7 separate regions of the Homo sapiens genome follow, and regions 1, 2, 3, 4, 6 and 7 are each linked to region 5. The links are contacts of gene promoters, found by promoter capture Hi-C in blood cells and fetal thymus (Javierre and others, 2016). All regions are on one chromosome and are shown on one strand. Each heading gives the region's core, a stretch centred on a gene start or on the middle of the fragment in contact. The rest is flanking DNA. Distances are from core to core; before and after follow the strand shown.

Region 1 (3,610 bases), core at 1,108-3,607, 1.6 Mb before region 5:
CCTAGAAATTCTGTTCTCTACAATCACAGACTACCAGAAATTTTGCAGTTTGAAGTCTTATCAGTTGGGATAAAACATCCCATGCTTTCCTGGAGGATCAAAGTCACTCTGACACACAGAAGCAACCTCAGTTCCCAAACAGGGCAGACCTTCAGATAAGGAGTTTCTGGAGATAATCCTGCACATCTATGTTAACCTGGTAGTCTCCAAGGAAAGAGGACCACTTTGCAGTCCAGACTAGATCTTGGCCCCTTTACACTCAGTTCTACATGGCTTTGAGCCCATCAAAACACTACTTCATTTAAATTTGCCTAAACTTTACTCATCTCCAAAATTCTATGATTTTCTTCCTTTTTTTTTTTTTTTTTTTTGACATAGGGTCTGACTCTGTCACTCGGGCTGGAGTGCAGTGGTGCAATCATAGCTCAATGCAGCCTCAAACTCAAGCAATCCTGTCACCTCTGCCTCCTTAGTAGCTGGGACTACAGGTGCGCATCACCACATCCAGCTAATTTTTGTATTTTTTTTTGTAGAGACTGGGTCTCACGATGTTGCTCAGGCTGGCCTTGAACTCCTGGCCTCAAGCAATCCTCCTGCGTCAGCCTCCCAAATTGCTGGGATTACAGGCATGAGCCACTGCACCTGGCCTTTTAAATTTATTTTTATCCCCTCCACGGCTCTACTCATCCCCTGCATCAGTATTCCCTGGAACCTCAACACATTCCAGTACCCCACAGATGCAAGCACACAAGCTCATACTGTTCTGGCGCTCTTGAGCGTACTCCAGACCTCACACTGCTGACTCTCCCAGCAATGGCACACACTTCAGTGCCTCTATGGCTCTAAACCCACAGTAGCAGCCTCTAGAACGCCTTAAACCATCCGGCTGCCCCTTCCTAGAGTGTCCTCGTGCTCAGGGACACACGTGCACCTCACACCAACTTGACCCTTAGCGCACCGGGCCTCTGACGGTACCAAGACCCTTCCCGCACCACCACCACCCCCTACCTCACAGAGATCCACAATCCTCATCCCCGCTAGCACAGGCTCAGGTCTCCCACCGTCCTCCCTCCATCAGATCCCTCCATGAGGTCCCTCCAGCTCTGTTCCATTAGCATGCACTGGGCTCCAACTACCCAGACCTTTATTAGCGCATGCACACACCCACCACGGCACAACCCCCACAAGCGCACACCCAGCACTTGAGTCCTTCAACCACCTCCCCTCCATAAGCACCCCATTCTCTCCTACCCTGCAGGCCCCCACAGACACACACACAGCACTAACACCATACACACCCCCATCACCACACACGAGGCCTCAGAGGCCTATTAGCACACACCCTGGTGCCTCTACCACACTATCCCCCATTAGCACACACACTGGGCCTCTCTCCAGCCATAACCCCTATTAGCTTGCTTTGGAACTTCCTCAACACCCTACCCCTGTGATACACCCACGGGTCCCTCACCCGCTCTGCTGCCCACTTCCCTAAGCACACACTGGGCCTTGAGCCTCACCTGCCATAAGGCTCATCACCACATGCTCTGAGCCCTGCTCAGCCCAGGCCCCCATTGGCAAAGCTCCAGTCTCTCCCGGCTCCACCACCCATTCCCATATCCTCTGTTCCTCTGACCCCCTGCTCCCTATTTGCACTCATGGCACTTCCATCCCCAGCTCCCTGCCCCGGGCCAGGTCAGAGAGGCCCCGAAGGACTCCTGCCCTGTGCCCTCTCAGATGACTCTCTGTCCCTCTGATGAAGATATGCAAGTCCCGCCAGTATGCAGCCTCGCTTATTGCAGTGAGTCAATAAAAGTGATAGGTGTGTCCCGAGTGGCCTTAGGCTAGCTGGAAGCTCACACTCTCCTTCTCCAAACATGTACCACCTGTTCCCCCACCTTCACTCTCAGCTGATCATCTAACGAGATCATCCTATTTTACTAGAAAAACAGAAGCAATCAGAGAGCATTTCCACCAGTTCCCAAGCCCCACCCCAGGTTCCTGCACTCTCCTATTACTACAAACAGTGTGTTACCATGAAACTGGCCCCGAGCCCAGCTCAGGCAAACCCCACGCCCAGCTCTGTCCTCTCATTCTCTCCAACTCACTGCCACTGCACCCAAACTGACCTTATCACAGTCAGCACAGGTGGCCTCCACATCACTAAACACAACAGTCAAAGCACAGCCCCAGTCTTCCTTGATCTATCAATAGCATCTACCGTGATTGATAACTCCCTCCTTAAACGCCTTATATAATTGGTTTCCAGGAAACTACATTCTGGCAGCTCCTCATCTCTGAGTCCACGTAGTGGGGTCCCCCAGAGTTCAGAGCTCAGGCCTCTGCCACACTCCCTGGGAGAGCTCACCCAGACTCAGGACTTTTCATCGCTGCCTGCTGACAACTTCCAAAGGTAAAACTCCATTCCCAGCCTCTCCTCAGAACCCAAGGCTTGCTTCCTTGACATCTCCATGTGGATGTCTGGTGAACAACTCAAAAGATTCAAAAAAAACAACTCAATTTAAAAATGTGCAAAGGGTCAGGCATTGGTGGCTCACACTTGTAATCCCGGCACTTTGGGAGGCCAAGGTGGGAGGATCGCTTGAGCCTAGGAGTTCCAGACCAGCCAGGGTAACATAGTAAGACCTCCTGTCTACAAAAACTAAATTTAAAAATTAGCCAGGCATGTTGGCCTGTGCCTATAGGCCCAGCTACTCAGGAGGCTGAGGTGGGAGGATCATTTGAGTCCAGGAGACCAAGGCTGCAGTGAGCTGTGATCGTGCCACAACACTCCAGCCTGAGTGACAGTGAGACCCTGTCTCAAAAAAATAAACAAATAAAATTTTTAAAATGGGCAAAGGACTTGAACAGACATTTCTCCAAAGTAGATACACAGATGGCCAACAGGCACATACATGAAAGATGCTCAGCTTCACCAGTCATCAAGGCAAACGCAGATCAGAAGTGTGACAAGATGGCATTTTACACCCATGAGGATGGCTATAATACAAAAATCAGTAACAACATAGGGGAATGTGGAAAAACTGAAATCCTCAAACATCACTGGTGAGAAAGTAAAATGCAGCCACTGTGGAAAGCAGTCTGGCCGCTCCTCAAAAGGTTAAGCACAGTCACCACACGACCCAGCAACTCCACTGCCCAGTATGTACCTATGAAAACACACACACTCACACACACACTCATACATGAATGTTCACGGAAGCATTATCCACAACTGCCAAACAGTGGAAACAAGCCAAGTGTCCATTGGCAGATGAATGGATAGACAAAATGTGGTACATCCATAAATGGAATATTATTCAGCCATAAAAAATAAAGCACTAATTCATGCTGCAACATGGGTGAACCCTGGAAACATCATGCTCAGTGAAATAAGCCTGACAAAAAGGCCACATGCTGTAAGATTCCATTTACATGAAATGTCCAGAAACAGCAAATTCAGACACAGAACATAGATTTGTGGCTCCCAGAGGCTGGGGAGGCAGGGGGTGGAATAGCTGCTGACAGGGATGGGGTCTCTTTTTGGCTAAAATGTTCCTGAATTAGACAGTGATGATGATTGTACAACCTTGTAAATATGCTAAATATC
Region 2 (3,664 bases), core at 282-2,781, 1.6 Mb before region 5:
CATGTTGGCCAGGCTGGTCTCGACCTCCTAGCCTCAAGTAATCCGCCCATCTTGGCCTCCCAAAGTGCTGGGATTGCAGGCATGAGCTAACATGCCCAGCCCTCGTCTTCTCTTGAGATGGCTTCTCATCCCTCGAGCTCTCCAAATACTACAGGCACCTCCCCTGACACATCTCCAAGGGTAACTGGTTCCATACTTTGTGCTCTTTGAGCCTAGTTTCCTTGAAGACCTCTTATGTTCAACAAGGAGCTTAGTTACGTCAGTGGCCAGGCAAGTGAAACCTTTTCTAGTTGAGGAGTAGGTTAACCTGAAGGCGGAGATCTCTAGAAATGAAAACAGAAAGGTTGGCTGCCCACTGGCAAAATCTACCTGTAAACTACCCCGCTTTACTGTGTTCCTGAGCCAACTAGAGCCTGGGGGTGTGTGTGTTCCATTCTTTGATATAAAGACTACAGGATTCTTAAATACAATTAAAATGGCATTATTTACTGGTGGATTATTCTGAAAACAGTGTTGGTAGGTACTTGGGAGGTGCATAGAAGGGCAAACTCCCAGAGAGTTTCCATAATGCTGTTATACTTCTGCTCTTAGGTTCAGAAAAATGAAAAATTATTTACTATCCTTTTGGAATCTGATTATGGAATACACTCCATGATGCATCATATAGCCACTTCTTTTTTATATATAAAAAAAGCAAAAACAACCTCTTACCCTTTCAAATAGTTCCATGCACTTTCATTATGTGGTACTAGTTTAATCATTTCCAGAGTGTATCTGCAAGAAAAATATATATATACAATTTTAAAAGAACAGTGCAATGATGAGACACAGTTTTTTTTTTTTTCTGAAACGGAGTCTTGCTCTGTCACCCAGGCTGGAGTGCAGTGGCACAATCTCAGCTCACTGCAACCTCCGCCTCCCAGGTTCAAGTCATACTCCTGCCTCAGCCTCCCGAGTAGCTGGGACTACAGGCGCCCACCACCACACCCAGCTAATTTTTGTATTTTTAGTAGAGACAGGGTTTCACCATATTGGCCAGACTGGTCTTGAACTCCTGACCTTGTGATCCGCCTGCCTCGGCCTCCCAAAGTGCTGGGATTATAGGCATGAGCCACTGCGCCCGGCCAAGACACAGTTTTACTAAGACTGTGGCACAGCTTTGTAAACACACTTTCACTTGTGTCAGCGTTTCTTAGTGTACTGTGGCACCTCTCTCAGTCATATTTAAATCACGAGAATCCCTTAAGGCTGCAGCTGTCAATTCAGTTCTAGGGAAGGACACAAAACTAATCTAAAAGCTTCAATTCACAATAGGAAAAAAAGGAACATAAAATATTTCCTTTAAATAATATGGAAGATTTTCCTTTTGAAGGAAACATCAGCTAAAAGAAGGAAACTTTCCATTTATTGGTAAAGCAACCTTGGGGAAACAGTCTAAGCTCTACTTACGTCCCAACAAATCCCTAGTCACTGAAATAGGAGAATTTACATAATCTTTAGCTATCATTAAAAAATGGCATGGAAATTACATAGGCAAAGAATAAAAATGAAAAATCAACACAAGAATGTATTTCTTATATTCCAAAGCAAGATGACTAGTAAACTGTGATGTGATTCCCTGTCAAAATGGGTGCTCCATACCTTTATCTTCCCCTTAAACAGATTAAATATAATTCAGACTCAATTATCACAAATCCCAAGGAAGCCACAGAACTTGCTTTACCACATAATTGCTCAGATGAGTAAGTCACTGACTAAAGCTTGGTAGTCTTGGTTCTGCTGCAGTGCTGTTACTATAATTTTTTTTTTTCCACAGAGTAATAATAAACTCATTCAACATTATAAAAATACTTTTCCAACTACTTTTACATGACTTAATGTTTCCAATTATTTGCGAAACCATGTCCCCGCAGGTCTTAGCTGGTCCTTGTTTAAGATTCTTAATTTCATTTTGGCAATATCTAAATTTTTATTTACATACATGTGTACTAAAGCATTACCTATTTTTATGGTTAAAACATGAACTTTAGCTGGGCATGGTGGCTCACATCTGTAATCCCAGCACTTTCAGAGATCAAAGCGGGAAGACTGCTTGAGGCCAGGAGATCAAGACCAGTCTGGGCAACATAGTGAGACCTCATCGCTACAAAAAATTTTAACAATTAGCTGGATGCAGTGGCACATGCCTGTAGTCCCAGCTACTCGCAGGCTGAGGTGGGAGGATTCCTTCAGCTCAGGAGCTCAAGGCAGCAGTGAGCTATGATCCGTCACTGCACTCCAGCCTGGGTGACAGAGTGAAACCCTGTCTCTTAGGAAAACAAACAAACAAAAAGACCGATGAACTTTGAGGTCAGGCTGCCTCGCTTCAAATCCTGGTCCCATAAATTATGTGCTCTTGGGCAAATTACAGAATTACCTGGAACCTCAAGTTCTTCATGAAGTGTCTCACAGAGCTGTTAGAATTAGTGGCATATAGTAAATGCTTGATAAATGCTGTTATTGGTAGTACTAGAAGACTATGCACTCATAGTCTAGAAAAAGGGCCATGACACATTAACTGAAAAGGCAATGCCTGTAACATTATTATCTAGGTTGCTGTGTATAAATGTTTGCAAGTGTATTTATAAAGTTTGGAAAAATTCACCCAATTATAGCTCACTCTGGAAAATGGGATGTGGGATGAAGAACAGTAAAAGACTTTGACTTTTTACTTTATAGAATTTAGTACAATTTCCCCCCCCATAACTACATTGCATTACTTTTATAATAAAAAGAAAAAAATGACAAAAATAATTATGTACATCTATCTGTGTATGCTTAGAGTTAAAAAAAATTTAACAAACTGTAAATTCTAGATACCTACAGCTACTCTTCACATTTTAAATACTTCTTTTACCCATCTTAAAAGGAAAATAAATCCTAAGTATAGGAAGCTCTTTTAGATTCTTGGGTAATTATTTCTGTTTCTATTTGGCAACAGGAAGCCAGTGATCTGCCTCTGAAAAGGCTAAACGTTTGCATTTTGAAAACTCTTCATATTCAATTTTTAAAATGCTTTGTTACCGCTAACTACTGTCAATCTTTAGACGAATAATGTTCAATAAAACTGCCAGTGATGATGCAAATGTTTTGTATGTGCTGTCCAATATGGTAGTCACTAGCCACATGTACGTACTGAACGCCCAAAATAGGACATGTGCAATGAAATAATTGTATTTTTAATTTTTTATAATCATACCGATTGAAACTTAAATAGCCATATGTGGCTAGTAGCTACCATACTGAACAATACAGGAATACCTTGCAGATATGGAAGGTTCAGTAAAGCAATTTTATCACAATTAAGCAAGTCACACGACTTTTCTTTTTCCCAGCACATATAAATTATGTTTACACTATATTGTAGTCTAGTATGCAATAGCATCATATCTAAAAAAACAATGTACATACCTCAATTAAAAAATACTTTATTGCTAAAAAATGCTAATGATCATCTGAGCCTTCAGCAAGTCGTAATCTTTCTGCTGGTGGAGGGTCTGGCCTCCATGTTGATGGCTGCTGACTGATCAGGGTAGGGTGCTGGGTGCTGAAGGATGAGATGGCTGTGGCAATTTCTTAAAATAAGACAACAATAAAAGATTTCTCTGTAGCATGTGATGCTGTC
Region 3 (3,923 bases), core at 721-3,220, 1.4 Mb before region 5:
AGGCCAATGCAGTGAAAGGCAGAGAGAAGAGCTAGAAAGAACTATATCCCCTCCACCACGGCACCCCCCCCCCCAAAAAAAGAAACAGGAAAAAAAAAAAAAAAGAACTATGTCCTAAAGGTAAAAACTGAACTACTGAATTTAAAAATCTTGATGCCTCCCGGTATGTGAGATGAATTCATTTATTCTTTACATCTGGTGAGGTTGCAGTTTCTGTTACTCGGAGGCCAAATATCTTTACACAGATGTAGAAGTCACACTTAGAATGGTTAGGTTAGATATTCACTTCATTTTGATTTCAAATATATTCTGAAACTTTGTACTAATCAACATGATGTAGCCAAGAAATGTACTTTCCCTAATAGTATAAATTCTCTCTCAAAGTAAGAAAATGTAGCTGAGCCAGCTACCCAGTAGTGTACTCAGGATTTAGACGGAAATCAATCCCTGAGAACAGACAGACACAGGCCATCCTCTCATAGAACTTACAACTAGGAAAAATGAAACAGTATAATAGAAGTGTCAACAGCAGGCATAAAGATGAGAAGTGAGAGTGGGATGCAATTTAGGTATGAAGAGCAGCTTGGTACAGATCGAGTAGGGGTAAGAATTGGAGGAAGAAACAGAACAGGGGAGAATTAAAACGGTGAAAGACAGGGCAAAAAACTGAAGAATTAACATGTAAAACCTTAGAAGCCACATTAGGACCTTATTCTATGAATAAAGTAAGCAAAGGATTTGAACCAGGGGAGTGAGCCATGAGGTTTGCATTGTATTAATATAAGATCTGGCCGGGGGCGGTGGCTCATGCCTGTAATCCCAGCACTTTGGGAGGCGGAGTCGGATGGATCACGAGGTCTGGAGATCAGAACCATCCTGACTAACACAGTGAAATCCTGTCTCTTCACTAAAAATACAAAAAATTAACCAGGCCTGATGGCACACACCTGTAGTCCAAGCTACACTGGAGGCTGATGCAGGAGAATCGCTTGAACCCGGGAGGCGGAGGTTGCAGTGAGCCAAGATCATGCCACTGCACTCCAGCCTGGGCGACAGAGCGAGACTCCGTCTCAAAAAAAAAAAAAAAAAAAAAGATCATACCGGCTGCAGTATGAAGGAAGGAGTGGAGGGAAAGAGACAGGAAGACCCATTTGAGTAGGTTTATATACTAACACGGATGAAGCTAAACTCAGTACAGACAATGAGAATACTGGGAATAACACTCAGGTGACCATATGTCTTCACACAAATTTTTATTTATTGGGTTAGAAAAGAAGTAAAACTGCTAGGTCAAAAAGTGTATGAACATTTTACGGTTTTTGATAAAACTGTCAAACTGCCCTAAATATATACTGTAGCAATTTATTCTCTTACTAACGGTGGGTGAGTGGCTACTTCTCCGCACCGTATCATTTATCAAATCTTTTTGTTTTGTTTTGTTTTTCAGACGGAGTCTCACTCTGTCGCCCAGGCTGGAGTGCAGTGGCGCGATATCGGCTCACTGCAAGCTCCGCCTCCCGGGTTCACGCCATTCTCCTGCCTCAGCCCCCCGAGTAGCTGGGAATACAGGCGCCCGCTACCATGCCCGGCTAACTTTTTTGTATTTTAAGTAGAGACAGGGTTTCACCGTGTTGGCCAGGATGTCCTCATCTCTGACCTCGTCATCCGCCCGCCTTAGCCTCCCAAAGTGCTGGGATTACAGGCGTTTGAGCCACCACGCCCGACCTCATTTATCAAATCTTTAAAAGACAACTATTGGCCGGGCACGGTGGCTCATGTCTGTAATCCCAGCACTTTGGGAGGCCGAAGAGAGTGGATCACGAGGTCAGGAGATGAGACCATCCTGGCCAACACGGTGAAACCCCGTCTCTACTAAAAATACAAAAAATTAGTCGGGCGCTGTGGCGGGCGCCTGTAGTCCCAGCTACTCGGGAGGCTGAAGCAGGAGAATGGTGGGAACTCGGGAGGTGGAGCTTGCAGTGAGCCGAGATCGCGCCACTGCACTCCAACCTGGGCCACAGAGCGAGACTCCGTCTCAAAAAAAAAAAAAAAAAAAAAAAAGACAACTATTAACAGTACAGTCAGTAGCTTCTTTGTATATAATACAGGAGAGTTTTGCAGGTAGAGACGGTTATGGTGGTAGAGGCCCAGGGAATTATCTTAAAGATCCTCATAGCAAGTTTTTACTTAAGTGTCTATTTGGGAAAGCTGATAAGAGGATCCTTCCAAGCTGCCCTGACACAAACCAAACACCTGGTAGAGGTGCAATAAATGATTAGTAAATGAATACATGAAACAAATAAACACCATCTGCGGGAACTGATTTTGAATTTTACTCCATACTATCTCCAGCTGCCTGCTCATTAGTAAAAGAAATAAGCACTTAAAAGAAATAAGCACTTGCTTCCATTCTACAGTTGCCAAGTCAATGGCCCATTTTCAAAAAAGAAAACCCAATCTTTCTTGTAGGTTTGTTTAGAAGGAAAAATAGAGGCAGCAGTGAGGACTATGTCTCATTCTTCTCTTTATCACTGACCTCAGCACAATGCCTGATACGAACAAGCCCTCAGTGGACGCCACTTTGAATGAAAGGAGCTAATTCTAATCCCTAGTTTTGCCCTGTAAATTTAGACAGGATGTTTCATCTCTCTCAATATCAGTTTTTCCATATAAAGAAAGATTGGGGAAAAATAGCCTATAGAAGGGTGTGTTGCTTCAGAATGAATGAGAAAATGAATGCCCATGAGGTATTTTGCAAAGTCTAAAGCAATGGTCCCAAACCTGGTGTGTAGGGGAATCATCTGGGGGGGTTTGAAAATACACATTTTGGCAGGGCGTGGTGGCTTATACCTGTTACCTCAGCACTATGGGAGGTCAAAGCTGGAGGATCACTTGAGCCCAGGAATTCGAGACCATGCTGAAAAACATGGCAAAATTCTGTCTCTACAAAAAATACAAAAATTAGCTGGGTATGGTGGGTCACGCCTGTAGTCCCAGCTATTCAGGAGGCGGAGGTGGGAGGATCACTTGAGCCTGGGGGGTCGGGACTGCAGTGAGCTGTGACTGCTCCACGGCACTCCAGCCTGGGCAACAGAGTGAGACCCTGTCTTAAAAAAAAAAAAAGAGAGAGAGAGAGAGAATACACATTTCTTGGCTCCCCCTACTGAATCAGAATCTGTGTGTAGGAAGCTGGGGATCTATTTTTAACAAGTTCATCAAATAATTCTTACACAGCTGGGCACTGGTTTGGCATTTGGAATCCTATGATCCAAAGCACTATGAAAGGGAAGGGATGCAAGATTGGAAAACAGCCTCTGGCCAATCAGAAGAAGCAACTCAACAAAGCAGGTAATTCAAAAAAGCAAGTAACTTAGTTGTTAAGACTTGATCTGGGCCTGGCACGGTGGCTCACGCCTGTAATCCCAGAACATTTGGAAGCCGAGGCGGGTGGATCTTGAGGTCAGGAGTTCAAGACCAGCCTGACCAACATAGTGAAACCCCGTCTCTACTAAAAAATACAAAAATTAGCCGGGCGTGGTGGTGCGTGCCTGTAATCCCAGCTACTAGGGAGGCTGAGGCAGAATTGCTTGAACCCAGGAGGTGGAGGTTGCAGTGAGCCGAGATTGTGCCACTGCACTCCAGCCTGGGCAACAGAGCAAGACTCCACCTCCAAAAAAAGACTTGATTTGTTTTTTTCTCTTGGGATTTAGGGAAGCTAAATTTTCATTTTTGTTTTTAAAACATGGCTTTATTCAATTATTTTCTCTGTATTAGCCCTTGAGGTACATAGTTGCTCATAAGGGTCAGAGATGTCCACCTCTGCTGCAAGACCAAAGTGAAACAGATCCTAAAGAAAATTTATCCCCTAGTTTATTTTTGGGGTGATGAAAATGTTCTTGGAACTAGATAGTCATGATGACTGC
Region 4 (3,732 bases), core at 1,201-3,700, 1.6 Mb before region 5:
TCATTTTTATGCAAACGAGATCCCATCACACTCTGAGCTTTGCATTTTTCACTCGTACATTATTAAAGATAGTGTAAACTAGTACAAATACTTCTACAACAAATCATTAAAATTTACATACTCTTTGACCCAGTAATTCCAGCTCTAGAAAGTTCTCTCACAAATATACTCCCATATGTGTGCAAGTATTCAAGGATATTTATTGGGAGCATTGGATTACAAAAAAAACAAACAAAAGACTGAGGCAGGCAGATCACTTGAACCCAGCAGTTTAAAATTAGCCTGGGCAACTTAGGGAAACTCCGCCTCTACAAAAAATATAGAAATTAATCGGGCGTGGTGATCCAGGCCTGCAGTCACAGCTACTCGGGAGGCAGAGGTAGGAGGATCGCTTGAGCCTGGGAGGTCAAGGCTGCAGTGAGCCATGATCGCAAGCACCGAGCCTGGGTGACAGCACAACACTGTCTCAAAAAAAAAAAAAAAAAAGGAACTGCCAGGTATGGTGGTTTGCACCTGTACTCCCAGCTACTCGGGAGGCTGAGGCAGAAGGACTGCTTGAGCCCAAGAGTTTGAGACCACGCTGGGTAACATAGTGAGAGCCTGTCTCTGAAAAGAAAAAAACAGAAAGGGGTCATTTACAGCCAAGTAGAATATTAAATGTGGGTAATGTGGTGACCCACTACTTGCAATGGCATCTGAAGTGGGATGGATGTTGCAGCACTGATCCCTTGGCCTGTGGGATCTGTGCTAACTCTGGGTAATGTCAGAACTGAATTAAATTGTAGGGCAACTAGTTGGTGTCTACAGAAAATTGCTTGGTGTGAAAAATCCAAACATTTGGTGTCGAAGTATTTTGACTATAGAGAAACAGTTTTTTCCTTTTAGCCTGTAACACTGAAAGTATCAGACACGAATATGAACAATTACTCCTCTTCACAAAATTCTGAGGTATACAAAGTTTACCTAGTTCTAAACACTATCTTTAAAAAGTTGAATTTGAGCAGTGGCTCAGGCCTGTAATCTCAGCACCTTGGGAGGCCGAGGTGGGAGGATCACTTGAGGTCAGAAGCTCAAGACCAGCCTGACCAACATGGTGAAACCCCATCTCTACTAAAAATACAAAAATTAGCTGGGCATGGTGACACATGCCTGTAATCCCAGCTACTCAGAAGGCTGAGGCACGAGAATCGCTTGAACCTGGGAGACAGAGGTTGCAGTGAGCCGAGATCACGCCATTGTACTCCAGCCTGTGCAACAAGAGCGAAAGTCTGTCTCAAAAAAAAAACCAAGCTTCCAAATAATTTCAAATTTAAAACAAAATGGTAACATATTAAATATGTATACAAATGTATATATATAATACATTATCTTACACACACACACACACACACACACACACATAAAACATACACATATGCACATTGATAAAATAAACTGGGAGGCTATCAGGCTGGGATAGCTCCAAAGCCTCAGGTTCCTATGTAAACAACCAAAATCCGATTCACTGTAAAAGGTAAAATGAAACATTATTCTTTTAATTCAAACATTATAAACAGACCAGGCGCGGTAGCTCACGCTTGTAATCCCAGCACTCTGGGAGGCCGAGGTGGGCGGATCACCTGAGGTCGGGAGTTCGAGACCAGCCTAACCAACATGGAGAAACCCCGTCTCTACTAAAAATGCAAAATTAGCCAGGTGTGGTGTCGCAAGCCTGTAATCCCAGCTACTCGGGCGGCTGAGGCAGGAGAATCACTTGAACCCGGGAGGCGGAGGTCGCGGTGAGCCAAGATCATGCCATTGCACTCCAGCCTGGGCAACAAGAGCGAAACTCCATCTCAAAAAAAAAAAATTATAAACAACATATTGTCATGCTCGAAGATTCTCAAACTTTGACTTTTTTAACTCAACATTGTTTCTGAGATCTGTTCATGTTATAATAGATCTAAATCCTCTTAACGGTTATATAGTATTAACTGTATGACAATGATACATTTTATTTTATCCATTTCTCCAAAAGATAGACATATAGCTTCCAATATCTTGCTTTTTCAAAAAATGCTGCAAATTATAGTAGCTAACATATATAGTGCTTACTATGAGCCAGACAGTATTCTACTATTTTATGTAAATAATTTACTACATCTATAGTTACTACCAAGATCCTCATTTTACACAGGTGGAAACAGAGGCACATAGGAGTTAAATAACTTGTCCAAGATTACACAGTCAGTAAAATGTGAAGTTAGAATTTGAACCAGATGGTCTGGCTCCAAAGTCTGTGCTTTTAACCTCCTGTGCATATCTTCTCATGCCATGTGCCAGAATGAACCCAATATTAAATTAGAAGCAACACACTGCTAGGTTGTAAGATAAGTGCATTTTCCAGTTTTAACAGATATACCAAACTACTTTCCAAAATGGCTAAACATTCGAAAAATCCCATATGAAATGTATGGAGCTCTTCATATATCTTAATACCTAATATAATATCAAGACAGTTTTCATTTCTGCCACTTAAATCATGGGTGGAAAATGGAATTCTCATTTTAACCTGTCATTCTTAATGATAAAGGATTCTTCCTATTTTATTGGCCAATGGGATTTTCTTTTCTGTGAATTGCCAGTTCATACCCTTTGTCCATTTTTTGATTAAACTCTCTGTCTCCTTATCCTGTTGTAAAAACGTCTCAGTTTTAATATGGATCCTGTTTAAATGACATACCTTCTTCCACACTGCTGCTTGCTTTTTAACTTGCTCATGGTTTCTTCTGCTGTGTAAGTTTTAAATTGATATATTTGTCTATAAACGGTTGACAGGTCAAACTTATCTTTTCCTTTAGGGTTTCTAACCATGGTGTATGTAAGAATTCACAAAGTTAATTTTTTTTTTTTTTTTTTGAGACAGAGTTTTGCTCTTGTCGTCCAGACTACAGTGCAATGGCGTGATCGTGGCTCACTGCAACCTCCACCTCTCAGGTTCAAGCAATTCTCCTGCCTCAGCCTCCTGAGTAGCTGGGATTACAGGCGCCTGCCACCACGCCCAGCTAATTTTTGTATTTTTAGTAGAGACAGGGTTTCGCCACGTTGGCCAGGCTAGTCTCAAACTCCTAACCTTAGGTGATCTGCCCACCTCAGCCTCCCAAAGTACTGGGATTACAGGCGTGAGCCACCGCGCCTGGCCCAAAATGTTAATTTTATACCTTGCAAAAAGGTTAATTTATCCTCAATGGAAACATATGATTATATTAGTTTCCCCCAACATCTCTGTTATAAGTACTTATGAATCTGAATAAGTTATGGTTTATATTTCTCTGATCACTAGTAAGGTTAATATCTCTTCATAGATATTTCTATTTTGTGAATTGTCTCTTCATATATACTATCTCTCAAAGTATGAGAGTTTTGCATTTCCGTGCAGTTATATATTCTGACCTTCTCCTTAATCGATTCTGAGGTTTACATCTTGCCTAATACGTTCTCCATCCTAAGAATGATAGGGATACAACTCTGCTTTTATCTAAGTGCACAGCCAACTGTTCCAACCATTATTTGATTAATCCACCCTTTTCATAAAGGTATAAAATGTCCTTTTTATCACATATTAAGCTTTCATAGAGTGAGGATCTATTTCTCGAGTCTTTACAAATCTACTTCTGTGCTACTTCCACTTAATCATTAAGTTTAGTAATATATCTGCACACTTAATACGGCAAACCTATCATTATGCTTTTT
Region 5 (4,016 bases), core at 265-2,764:
CATGGTTATGTCAAACTGAAGGAAACTATAATGGATCATTGTTGATTTCCCAACCATGGAAATCGGGCAGTGCAACCCACCTCACTGCAAACTGACTGTAAATAACTGCTACACATTTCTCTACACAGACTCATCCACACCCACTTATCCCATGACCAGCATCTCTCAGTCCCACACCCAAGGAATGCCTAATCACCTCTCAGGCCCTCGTCCTCCCTGTCACAGAGGAGAGAGCCACAAAACCTGCTTCCAGCTAACCAGAAATTGATCCCTGAACGGGAAACACAATCTACATAACATGGGTCAAGACCAAAAGAATCTTTGGTTGAATGTACATATGTGGGCACACAAAAACACAGGCAGGCACGCACACACTCCATTACCTCTACAACAAGATACAATGATTTTTTTTTTTTTTTTAAAGTTTTGCTAGGTCTGAAGGGGAAGCAAATCCCATTCTTCCATTTTTGCCTGCAATGTTGCCCAAAGGACCTATATCCTGATGACCATTTTGATATGCAAGACAAAACAGGTGGCTCCCAGTGAATGTGACAAGTTTAAGGCCTTGTTCTGAGACATTTTCCTGTCCAGGCCTATCTAACGCCCGACGTCTTTAAGGTTCCAAGAAAGCCTGAACGCACCGCCTGGCCATGCACCTAATAAACCCTTTCAGCCAAACAGTGCGGCCAGCACAGAGGCAGCAAACACCAGTCACGAGAATGATGATGATTTATCTTGCGCGGAGAGGTAGGAGGATATAGTTTACAACCTGGTGACTGAGACGACCTGGAGCCTCAGGAATTGGCTCCTCATCGCTGCCGACAATAACCCGGGGTGGGGATTTGGGGGAGTGCAGCAGGGGAACACTGCTGGATCCAGATTCCCGGCACCGGGCAACAAAGTTCCATAAGGTCGTCAACCCCGGCGATCGGCCTATATTATTCTTCCTGCTCCAAACACCTGTCTTGCTTAGTGGCTCTCTTCTTACACGTTTGGCCAAGGCCCCTTCTGTGCCTGGACCTCCCCAGAACTGCGGGACCCTCAAAGGCCCGGTTGTCGCCCACACCCTTCCCGTCCCCGGTGAGTCTCTCTCCCTCGCCAGAGCAGGCGTGGGGAGCCAGGTTGCGTACCCGGTTCTCCAGCTCCGCAGGGAACTTGGTCTGGAACTGGCAGCGTGTGCCACTGCTGTAGTCTCGCTGAATGAACACCTTTCCGGACACCGGCGCCTGCTGCGGCCTCATGGCGAGGACAGGACACCCCGCGCTGCGGGGTCGGGGGAACACCAACCGCGAGTCAGAGCCCCGGCCTGGACCCGGGACTCTGACCCGCCAGCCCCTCGCCCCCACCCGCCGCCGAAAACAGCCCAAGGCCTCCTCTGCCCCGCTCCCCTTCACCCATGCTGTCACCGCGGGCCTTAGCTGCCGCCTGGCCCAGGCCCCGCGCCCCCCACAACCCGGTTCGGCCCGGGAAACACAAACCCGCCTCCTCTGCCCTCCAGCTGCTGTCGCACCGCCTTCGCCGTCACTTACGTCCTGCCGCAAAAAGCCTCTTCCCCGCCCCTCAGCTCGGCCTCCTACCTCAGGTCTGGGACCCACCCTCTCCTCCGGCCGTAAAGCCACCCTGCCGAAGCTGCGCGCTGTGGGGCTGGGCCGAGGAAGGGAAATGATGTGGGCGGGGCCAGGGCCGACCCCGCCTTCCGCCCGCGCGGGGATTGTTTCCGGAAGGAGAGAGGCGGGGCGAGCTGTGGGGCTGCGGCCGGGGCGAGCTGTGGGGCTGCGGCCGGCGCGAGCGCGCGGGGGTGTGAGGGGCGGAGTTTCCCGGCTGTGTCACTTCCCTAGTGATTGTGGCAGGTGGTTCCCGATCACTGATTGTGAGGGGTCATTTTCGTTCTTGATTGGACGTCGCAGCTTACGTGTGGGTTATGCCACCCAACTCATACACAAAACAAAAAACAAAACATAAAGAAAAAACAACACCCCCTCCCCAAACCCTCAAACACAAACTGCTCATTGTGTTCAGAAGTAGAAAGCAGGCTCCAAGGATGGATCCATTTGGTCCCTAGACTCTTGAGAAAGGGTCAGGAAGTGAGGACGAAGAACCTGCCTGGGCCCCAGCGTTGGGCGCCCCTGCCCCGACTCTTCTTTGGGGGCGGCGTTCCTCTCACCCCCCATTTCCACCCAGCTCCCATCCACATCCCTCAGGTGACCAAGGGGACAAGTGGTTCCGCCCTCGTTGCCCACTGGCCCTTACTTGACTCAGCATTTCTTTGCAAGGCAGCCAAAGAAACCCCACCTTACCCTTGTCTCCTGCTAATACAACCTGTTAGTACCACTGTCTTTTATATATTTAATATAGTTTAAATATCCTGCCTTTTAAATATGAAAAATTCTCTTACTGTATTTTAAAAACAGCTTTTTCGAGATATAAATGGCATACAATAAACCACACATTTAAAGCAGTGGATTTGATAACTTTGGACATATGAATACACCCATAAACCACTGTCACAATCAAGATAGTAAAGCTCCATTGCCCTGAAAAGGTTCCTCCAGCTCCTGTGTAATCTCTCCCTCCTGCCTCTCCCAGACCCCATTTCCCAGGCACTGATCCACCTTCTGTCACTCAACATTAGTTTCATTTCCTTGAATTTTATATAAATTGAATCATATAGTGTGTACCCCCTTTTTTTGCCTGGCTTCTTTCACATAGACTATTTTGAAGTCCATCTGTTGTTGTGTTATCAATAATTCATTTATTTTTGATGCTGGATAGCTATTCCATTGTATGGCCATCCCACAGTTTGTTTATCCATTCATCTGTTGATGGACATTTGGATTGCTTCCAGTTTTGGGATGTTACAAATAAAGCTGCTATGGACATTCATTTGCAAGTCTTTGCATAGGTGTGTAGACCTTAATGCTTTCATTTCTCTTGGGTACATACCTAGGAGTAGAATGGCTAGATTGTACGGTAAAAACACGTTTAACTTTTTGGCAGACTGACAAACTGTTTTCCAAAGTGGTGACACCATTTTGCATTCCCACCAGAGTTCCAGTTGCTCCACATCTTTGCCAAGACTTGGGTAGTAATATCTTCTGCAGCTATAATTTTCATTTTTCCATGACTAATTATTTTGAACATATTTTCCTGTACTTATTTGCCATCCATGTATCTTCTCTGGTGAAGTGTCTATTTAAAACTTTTGCCCATTTTTTTGTTTGTATTTTATTTTCCTGTTGTTGAGGGGTTTTTTGTTTTATTTTGTTTTGATTTACATCTTTATTGGCTGGGCTTAAGGTCAGTTTTAAATTTTTAAGGCACTTTAATTCTTGGATTTTTGTATGTTTAAAGATGTTTTCCTGAGGCCTTTATACTTGCGTGAGAACTTGGCCGGGCTGTTTTTGAGTTTTGAGTTCTTTATACATTCTGGAGAAAAATCCTTTATCAGATATGTGATTTGCATGCATTTTTCACAGTCTGTGATTTGTCTTTTTACTCTCTTAACACGTTAGGGGTTTGAGGGGATTAGGGTGTGGACCTCTTGGGGAGGGCATTTCTGCCTCCCATAGGTATAGAGTGAAACTCTTCCCTCCCCCCGTATGATTATGCAGTTGTTATTCAGTTGTTTACGTACCATTTGTTGAAAAGACTCTCATTTCTTCACTGAATTGCCTTTGTATCTCTGTTGAAAATCAGTGGGGGCCGGGCGCGGTGGCTCACGCCTGTAATCCCAGCACTTTGAGAGGCCGAGGCGGGCGGATCACGAGGTCAGGAGATCGAGATCATTCTGGCTAACACGGTGAAACCCCGTGTCTACTAAAAATACAAAAAATGAGCCGGGCGCCGTGGCGGGCGCCTATAAGTCCCAGCTACTCGAGAGGCTGAGGCAGGAGAATGGGGTGAACTCGGGAGGCGGAGCTTGCAGTGAGCGGAGATAGTGCCACTGCACTCCGGCCTGGGCTAAAGAGCGAGACTCTGTCTCAAAAAAAAAAAAAAAAAAAAAAAGAAAAAGAAAA
Region 6 (3,781 bases), core at 606-3,105, 1.5 Mb after region 5:
GAAATTGTCTTTTAGGCCAGCACGGTGGCTCACGCCTGTAATCCCAGCACTTTGGGAGGCCAAGGCGGGTGGATCACCTGAGGTCAGGAGTTTGAGACCAGCCTGGCCAACATGGTGAAACCCCGTCTCTAATAAAAATACAAAAATTAGCTGGGTGTGGTGGCGGGTGCCTGTAATCCCAGCTACTCGGGAAGCTGAGGCAGGACAATTGCTTGAACCCAGAGGCAGAGGTTGCAGTGAGTCGATATAGCACCACTGCACTCCAGCCTGGGCAACAAGAGTGAAACTCTGTCTCAAAAAAAAGAAAAGAAACTGTCTTTTAATATTTAGCATTACAGGTAAACAGTCGTATGTATTTACTCTGTAAATAAACTATTTTTCATTTTTGTTTTCTATGAATATGCAGATTTCTTTACCCTAGAAAATTCACAATTTTATCTGAGTATTTACATGTGCCCCCCAACCCTCACCCCAACACTGTCTTTCTGATATAAAAAACTCAAATATTTCTTAAGGTCTAAAAATTTTGTGCTTATATGTTGGAAGTTTTACTTTTCCTCCACCCATCTGCTTATGGGATTCCATTAAAAGGAATTTGGATCACCTGTATTTCTCTTTTTTATATATTTGTATTTTTCTGATGGTTTGCACTCTTTGATTTTTCTTTATGCTTTATGAAATTTATCAAGGAAGTCCCTAAGTCACTATATATATTTTTTGCAATCAATGTTTTACTGAATTTGTTAGGTTTATATTGAGGAGTTCTGGGATGTGTGTGGTTTTTTATTTCTAATAGTTCTTTTTATATATCAGCTTTCACTTAATTTAGGAAGGCAATATACTGGATACACTAAATAAAATATTTAAAGCACTAATATCATCTTATTTATTGGAGGCCATTGGTCCTGAATGCCAAGTGGGCTACCCTCTTCTTTTTGAGTTGCCCATTTTTTCCATATTATTTGGTAATTTTGTCTATTCAAATTCATGAACGAAGGTTAGTTTTATTAAGATTAGTGTCTAATATGGATTTTCTTATTGTATTTCCAGAGTTCTGCTGGATTTCTTCTTGCATAGCTCCCTCTGATCATGTCTTCCTAGGAAATGTGAGTGAATGGGTCTAAGGCAATTAATATATTTTGTTTCAAGATACAGATAGGTATGTTGAGACATTCTAAGACAAGGTGGTTGGCTTAGGTGCACTGTAAGATCAAAGCTGTAAATTCACTTATTGTGTTGTCTGTAGCAAGTAAAGGATCCAGAGAACACATGTTTTTGTTATAGCTCCATCTGTGGTTCTAGAAACTATTACATTTGCCTCTCACAGGAAATTGCTAACTGATTCAGTCTCTCGAAACTATTGTGTTTGCTTCTCACAAACAATTCCTGTTTCAATTTCAGCCTTTGGTGGTAAAGTCTAAAAACTGGCCTTCATTTGTTAGGTATTTTCCAGGCAATTAAGAGTAGGGATAGAGGCCGTGCATGGTGGCTCAGGCCTGTAATCCCAGGGCTTTGGGAGGCTGAGGCTGGTGGATCACAAGGTTAGGAGTTCGAGACCAGCCTGGCCAATATGGTGAAACCCCGTCTCTACTACAAATACAAAAATTACATGGGCATGGTGGCGGGTGCCTGTAGTCCCAGCTACTCAGGAGGCTGAGGCAGGAGAATTGCTTGAACCTGGGAGCTGGAGGTTGCAGTGAGCCAAGATTGCACCACTGCATTCCAGCCTGGGAGACAGAGTGAGACTCTGTCTCAAAAAAAAAAAAAAAAAAAAGAAGCGATAGAGACCAAGAGTGTTGTGTTAGTTTTATGCGCTGCCATAACTAATGACCACAAACATCATGACTTAAAATAGCAGAAATGTACTCTGCCACAGTTATGGAAGATAGAAGTCATAGAAGTCCCAAATTAAGGTATCAATAGGGTTGGTTTCTTCTGGAGCCTCTGAGGGAGAATTTGTTCCATTCTGTTCCATGCCTGTCTCCTAACTCCTGGTGACTGCCAGCAATCCTTGGCACATCTTGGCTTGTCAATGCATCATTCCAATTCTACCTCCATCTTCACGTGATGTTTTCCCTTGAGTCTATGTTCCTGTGTTTAATTTTTCCTCTTCTTATAAGGACACTCATCATATACAATTTAATCCAGTATCACCTCAGCTTAACTCGAATACATCTGTACACACCCTATTTCCAAATAAGACCACTTTCACAGATTATGCATGAACATGACTTCTAGGAAGACACTATTAAACCCAGTAAAAATTTGTATTTTAATATATATATATTTGTTTGTTTGTTTTGTTTTGTTTTTTGAGACAGAGTCTCACTCTGTGGCCCAGGCTAGAGTTCAGTGGTGTGATCTCAGCTAACTGCAACCTCTGTCTCCTGGGTTCAAGTGATTCTTCTGCCCCAGCCTCCCAAATAGCTGGGACTACAGGCATGTGCCACCATACCCTGCTAATTTTTTCTATTTTTAGTAGAGACATGGTTTCACCATGTTTCTCAGGCTGGTCTCGAACTCCTGAGCTCAGGCAATCCGCCAGCCTTGGCCTCCCAAAGTGCTAGGATTACAGGCGTGAGCCACCACACCCAGCCTAAACCCAGTACAAATGTTAGGTGATAGATTTCACACTCAATTTTAGCCAAAAGGCCAAGAAGGAATAGGGACTGGTTTCAATGCTGTGCTAAGAGGAGCCCCAATTTAACAAGTCCTTCTCTTCCTTTATGGCAGTTAAATCAAATAAAGCCTGGTAAATGCCTACGGCAGACGACCTCATAATTCACAAACTGAATTCTAACCTGCCCTCTTGCCAACTGTTCCAGGCTTCCCTTGCTTCTCTTCTCTGCTATTCTGAGATGGGAAAAGGGGACTCATGGGGATCTCCCTCTGCTTTGGTTAAATCCTTGACATGGGTCCTGTAAACTTATTTCTGGATTTTATACATGATTTGCTTAATACGTTCAAAAAAATCCTTTAAATTTTTATTCCATCATTGGAACTTTTCTCTATTTTTCTGTGTTTACAGATAGTTTTTTTCTTATTTTTGGATTTCTTTGGTCATGTCAACACAACATTTTATCTATCAGGCAAAGAAATTACTCTGTTTAGTTTGCTATCTTCACAGACATTGAAGCCAGTCCCTTACTCATCTTTTACAAGGTTCTAGTGCTTTGCACAAAGCAAACATTCAATGAGTATTTTAAAAAGAATTTGTAATTCTAGACATTAAATATTATCCATCAGCAAAGGGAAATTTTGGAGAGCGGAAAACTTTTCATGGACTTCCGCAATTATGTGGTACTCCAAACTGATAGATTAGGACAGATGGAGAAGAGACTACAGAGAAGTAATGAATGTATACTGAATGCTATTATAGGACAAGAACTACAAAAGGGCCACTTTGAAAGTGATTTACTTCCCATAACAATACTGTGAGACCAGAGTTTCTCTCATTTTATAAATAAGGAAATGGGATTACAGAGTTGAGTAACTTTTTCAGGGTTACATAGCTATTAGGTTGGTACAAAAGTGTTTGTGGTTTTTGTCATTAAAAGTAATGGCAAAAACTGCAATTACCTTTGTATCAGCCTAATCAACACTTGTGTGGAATTTACAGGCTTATTGGATGTTTTGTAGAACCCATGGCCAATTTTATAATTCAGAAATTCCCTCCATTTAACTATTCTATAACACCTAGGACAAAATCAAGTTAGACCCCCTCAGTAACAACAGAGCCTTGAGTACGTACATGGAATGAGGAACCTGAGAATTTCCAAGC
Region 7 (3,572 bases), core at 815-3,314, 1.5 Mb after region 5:
ATGAAACCATGGCCCAGAGAAGCAAAGCAGCTTGTCCAAGGTCATATAGCCAGCTAATCGCAGGACCAGGCTGGGAAGAGTTTCACAACTCAGGCCAGTGCTGCCTCTAATCTGTTTATGTGTGTATTAGTTCATTCTTACACTGCTATAAAGAAATACCTGAGACTGGGTAATTTATAAAGAAACGAGGTGTAATTGACTCAGAGATCCTTAGGCTTACCAGGAAGCATGGCTAGGAGGCCTCATGAAACTTTTCAATCATGGTGGAAGGGTAAGCAAGCATCTTACATGGCGGCAGGAGGTGGGGGAAGTGCCACACTTTTAAACCATCAGATCTTGTGAGAACTGGCCAGGCACAGTGGCTCACGCCTGTAATTCCAGCACTTTGGGAGAGCGAGGTAGGCAGATTACCTGAGGTCAGGAGTTCGAGATCAGCCTGGCCAACATGGTGAAACTCCGTCTCTACTAAAAATACAAAAATTAGCTGGGCATGGCGGGGCATGCCTGTAATCCCAGCTACGCAAGAGACTGAGGCAAGAGGTTGCAGAGAGCCGAGATGACACCACTGCACTCCAGCCTGGGAGATAGAGTGAGACTCTGTTGCAATAATAATAATAATAATAATAATAATGAGATATTGTGAGAACTCACTATCATGAGAATAGCATTGGGGAAATCCAACCCCATGATCCTGTCACCTCCCACTGGATCCCTCTCCTGACATGTGGGGGTTACAATTTGACATGAGATATGGGTGGGAACACAGGGCCAAATTCCGTCTATCTATCTATCTATCTATCTATCTATCTATCTATCTATCTATCTCAATGCTGTACAATCGAATGGGATCTGGAAGGCTGTTACAGAGGAATCATTTCTAAATGATCTGCTGTCATTTAAATGGAGTAAAACATCTACAAAACCTAAAACCTTAACTCTAAGGATCATATTTGCCCTTCACATTTTAAGCATGAGACAAAGATGAAAAACAAACCAATGTCAAACCAAACCAAACCAAGACAAAGTCAAGACTTACATTGTTCCAGCAGCAACATTAGCTTGGGAAATGATGTCTTCACCTTCTGTGCCCCCATCTGCCCAGTTTTTCTACTGGACACTCTTATTTGATGAGTTTGGCGATAGAAGCTGAGGTTTGGTGATGGGAGAGGCAACACTGGATCAGAGGCTATTTTTGTTTTCCAGGAGAAGCGGAGCCTAAGGATGTGTGGACCAGACCTGCCCCATGAGCTCCAGTCTATGTAATAACAAGGTCTTTTGAAGGGATTTTTCTGTAGACAATCTGCAATCTGGCCTCCCATAGAAGATATAGTGAGATGAGAAATATTTTTTTCACACTATTAAACTTCAACTGGGTGCAGTGGCTCACGCCTGCAATCCCAGCACTTTGGGAGGCCAAGGCGGGTGGATCACCTGAGGTCAGGAGTTCAAGACCTGCCTGGCCAATATAGTGAAACGCTGTCTCAACTAAAAATACAAAAATTAGCCAGGTGTGGTGGTGGGTGCCTGTAATCTCAGGTACTCGGGAGGCTGAGGCAGGAGAATCCCTTGAACCCAGAGGCAGAGGTTGCAGTGAGCCGAGATCACACCACTGCACTCCAACCTGGGCAACAGACTAAGACTCAGTCTCAAAAAAAAAATTAAACTTCAAGGAGTTACTGAAATTTGATAAAGTTTCATTTTGTTTTGTTTGCATTGCACATTACTTGTTTTATTATGTACAGACTGGAAAATACAGTAAAAAAAAATCCCTTATCTATACAAGGAAGAGGCAATCACTGTTAAATTTTAGACTGTGAATTTTAGGCACATTTCCTTCTAGTATATTTTTTATGCATTTTATATGGTTGATATTATATTATACATATAATTTAGCATGCTTTGTTCTTTGTTTTATTGTAAGATTTTAAATTTGGCCTGGATTCTAAAGTGCGTAAATGATTTCTGAGAACTTACCCAATTTCCAGGAATCTAGCCCAATTTCAGTTATTGATGACCACCAAGAGAGAAAAAAAATAAAAGAACAATTCAGTTTGTAAACCAGATATATTAATAACTTCTAGGGTCACATGTCCACAGGCATGCACACTTGTGTGCAAGGCACTGCAGGCACACACACATCCACACTTACTTTGAATTCTGCAAGTTGTGGCTGGACTATGGGGTGCTATGTGATAAAGGGTGAGCGACATTTCCACTCACATTCCAGCCCCAGAATATTTGGCCTGTGGCCATCTTAATATATTATTAGGCTGGGCACAGTGGCTCATGCCTGTAATCCTAGCACTTTGGAAGGCTGAGGCAGGTGGATTATGAGGTCGAGGATTCGATACCAGACTGGCCAACGTGGTAAAACCCCATCTCTCTAAAAATACAAAAATTAGTCGGGTGTGGTGGTAGGTGCCTGCAATCCCAGCTACTCAGGAGGCTGAGGCAGGAGAATTGCTCAAACCCAGGAGGCAGAGGTTGCAGTGAGCCGAGATCATGCCACTGCACTCCAGCCTGGGAGACAGAGGGAGACTCCGTCTCTGAAAATAAATAAATAAATAAATAAGTTATTTCACTCATCTTACATTTTTGTATTTACCACAACCCCACATTTTATTCTAGCTAGTTGATTCCTACTCAACTTTTAGGATTTGCCTTACATCAAGTTCTGCCTCATCACCAAGATTTTTACTGACTTGTAAAGCCTGCATTGATGTCATTTCTCTGAAATTCTAAAGGACATATTGTTTGAGTCACTCTTTGACATTTGTCATGTAGTGTCTTGTTATTTAACCACATGGGGAGTACTTTGCTTCTATTTCTTTCATTTCTTCATAGCACTTAGCTCTGTGTTAGGCATATTAAAAGGCTTCAAAAGGTAATTACCAAGCAGAATAATTGGTGAGACCCAGGACTGTGTCCGCATCTCTGGAATTAAACTAGCCCTTCACTCTTACTCCCTAGGAAGCTATTAATAGCTTTTTTGTTATTGTTTTGTTTTGTTTTGTTTGTTTTTGAGATAGGATCTCACTCTGTCACCCAGGCTGGAGTGCAGTGGTGCAGTCTCAGCTTACTGCAACCTCTGCCTCCCAGGTTCAAGTGATTCTCCTGCCTCAGCCTCCTGAGTAGCTGGGATTGCAGGCACCCACTGCCACACCTGGCTAATTTTTGTATTTTTAGTAGAGAGGGGGTTTGGCCATGTTGGCCACGCTGGTCTCAAACTCCTGATCTCAGGTGACCTGCCCACCTGGGCCTCCCAATGTGCTGGGATTATAGGCATGAGCCGCTGCACCTGCCTGTTGTTGCATTTTTGACTACCATTCTAGTACAGTCATTTTTCCCTTCAACCTTCTCTTATTCTGTCTTTCTCTTTGAGTAATAAATCCAGCTTATTCAATATTCAGTACCTTGAACAGAATAAATTACGCACATATATTATTTTTTTCATCCAAATTCTTACCCAGATTCAGCAGCTTTCAGTAGTCACCCATTTTATTATTAAAGCATAATTAATCAAGGATCACAATTCATAATTGCAGAAAACATAAAACTCCAGGGCTCAGAGC

What was found. The method cuts DNA at HindIII sites, captures the fragments that hold promoters and counts their contacts. A CHiCAGO score of 5 or more calls a contact.
Region 1: a contact is called between a fragment that was not itself captured here and the fragment with the promoter of GOLGA7 in region 5, in 1 of 17 cell types (activated CD4 T cells). The highest score is 5.4, in activated CD4 T cells.
Region 2: a fragment that was not itself captured here is called in contact with the fragment with the promoter of GOLGA7 in region 5 in 1 of 17 cell types (naive CD8 T cells); the score reaches 5.7 in naive CD8 T cells.
Region 3: a contact is called between a fragment that was not itself captured here and the fragment with the promoter of GOLGA7 in region 5, in 1 of 17 cell types (fetal thymus). The highest score is 5.1, in fetal thymus.
Region 4: a contact is called between a fragment that was not itself captured here and the fragment with the promoter of GOLGA7 in region 5, in 1 of 17 cell types (total B cells). The highest score is 6.2, in total B cells.
Region 6: a fragment that was not itself captured here is called in contact with the fragment with the promoter of GOLGA7 in region 5 in 1 of 17 cell types (M2 macrophages); the score reaches 5.9 in M2 macrophages.
Region 7: a fragment that was not itself captured here is called in contact with the fragment with the promoter of GOLGA7 in region 5 in 1 of 17 cell types (neutrophils); the score reaches 6.2 in neutrophils.

What each region holds. Positions count from the first base shown.
Region 1 is chr8:43,098,179-43,101,788 of GRCh38, reverse strand. All of the region lies in intron 2 of POMK (protein O-mannose kinase), which reads right to left. Among named protein-coding and RNA genes, the nearest start is that of POMK, 6.5 kb to the right of the region's middle. The HindIII fragment of the contact is 5,046 bases long and covers 1-3,610 here.
Region 2 is chr8:43,080,228-43,083,891 of GRCh38, reverse strand. FNTA (farnesyltransferase, CAAX box, subunit alpha) reads right to left here. Exons shown (of 9, transcript NM_002027.3): 7 at 712-774. Among named protein-coding and RNA genes, the nearest start is that of POMK, 11 kb to the left of the region's middle. The HindIII fragment of the contact is 462 bases long and covers 1,301-1,762 here.
Region 3 is chr8:42,901,477-42,905,399 of GRCh38, reverse strand. The region is part of intron 1 of HOOK3 (hook microtubule tethering protein 3); the gene reads right to left. Among named protein-coding and RNA genes, the nearest start is that of HOOK3, 6.5 kb to the right of the region's middle. The HindIII fragment of the contact is 6,491 bases long and covers 1-3,923 here.
Region 4 is chr8:43,059,842-43,063,573 of GRCh38, reverse strand. The region is part of intron 2 of FNTA (farnesyltransferase, CAAX box, subunit alpha); the gene reads right to left. Among named protein-coding and RNA genes, the nearest start is that of FNTA, 5.4 kb to the right of the region's middle. The HindIII fragment of the contact is 2,316 bases long and covers 1,293-3,608 here.
Region 5 is chr8:41,488,080-41,492,095 of GRCh38, reverse strand. It overlaps GOLGA7 (golgin A7), which reads right to left and starts at 1,514. Exons shown (of 5, transcript NM_001002296.2): 1 at 1,131-1,514. The coding sequence starts at 1,241. RefSeq lists enhancers at 884-993, 1,044-1,153, 1,444-1,573 and a silencer at 1,624-1,883. The HindIII fragment of the contact is 7,658 bases long and covers 1-4,016 here.
Region 6 is chr8:39,964,020-39,967,800 of GRCh38, reverse strand. The region is part of intron 3 of IDO2 (indoleamine 2,3-dioxygenase 2); the gene reads right to left. Among named protein-coding and RNA genes, the nearest start is that of IDO2, 31 kb to the right of the region's middle. The HindIII fragment of the contact is 7,937 bases long and covers 1-3,781 here.
Region 7 is chr8:39,983,925-39,987,496 of GRCh38, reverse strand. IDO2 (indoleamine 2,3-dioxygenase 2) reads right to left here. Exons shown (of 11, transcript NM_194294.5): 6 at 1,975-1,989. Among named protein-coding and RNA genes, the nearest start is that of IDO2, 51 kb to the right of the region's middle. The HindIII fragment of the contact is 5,649 bases long and covers 1-3,572 here.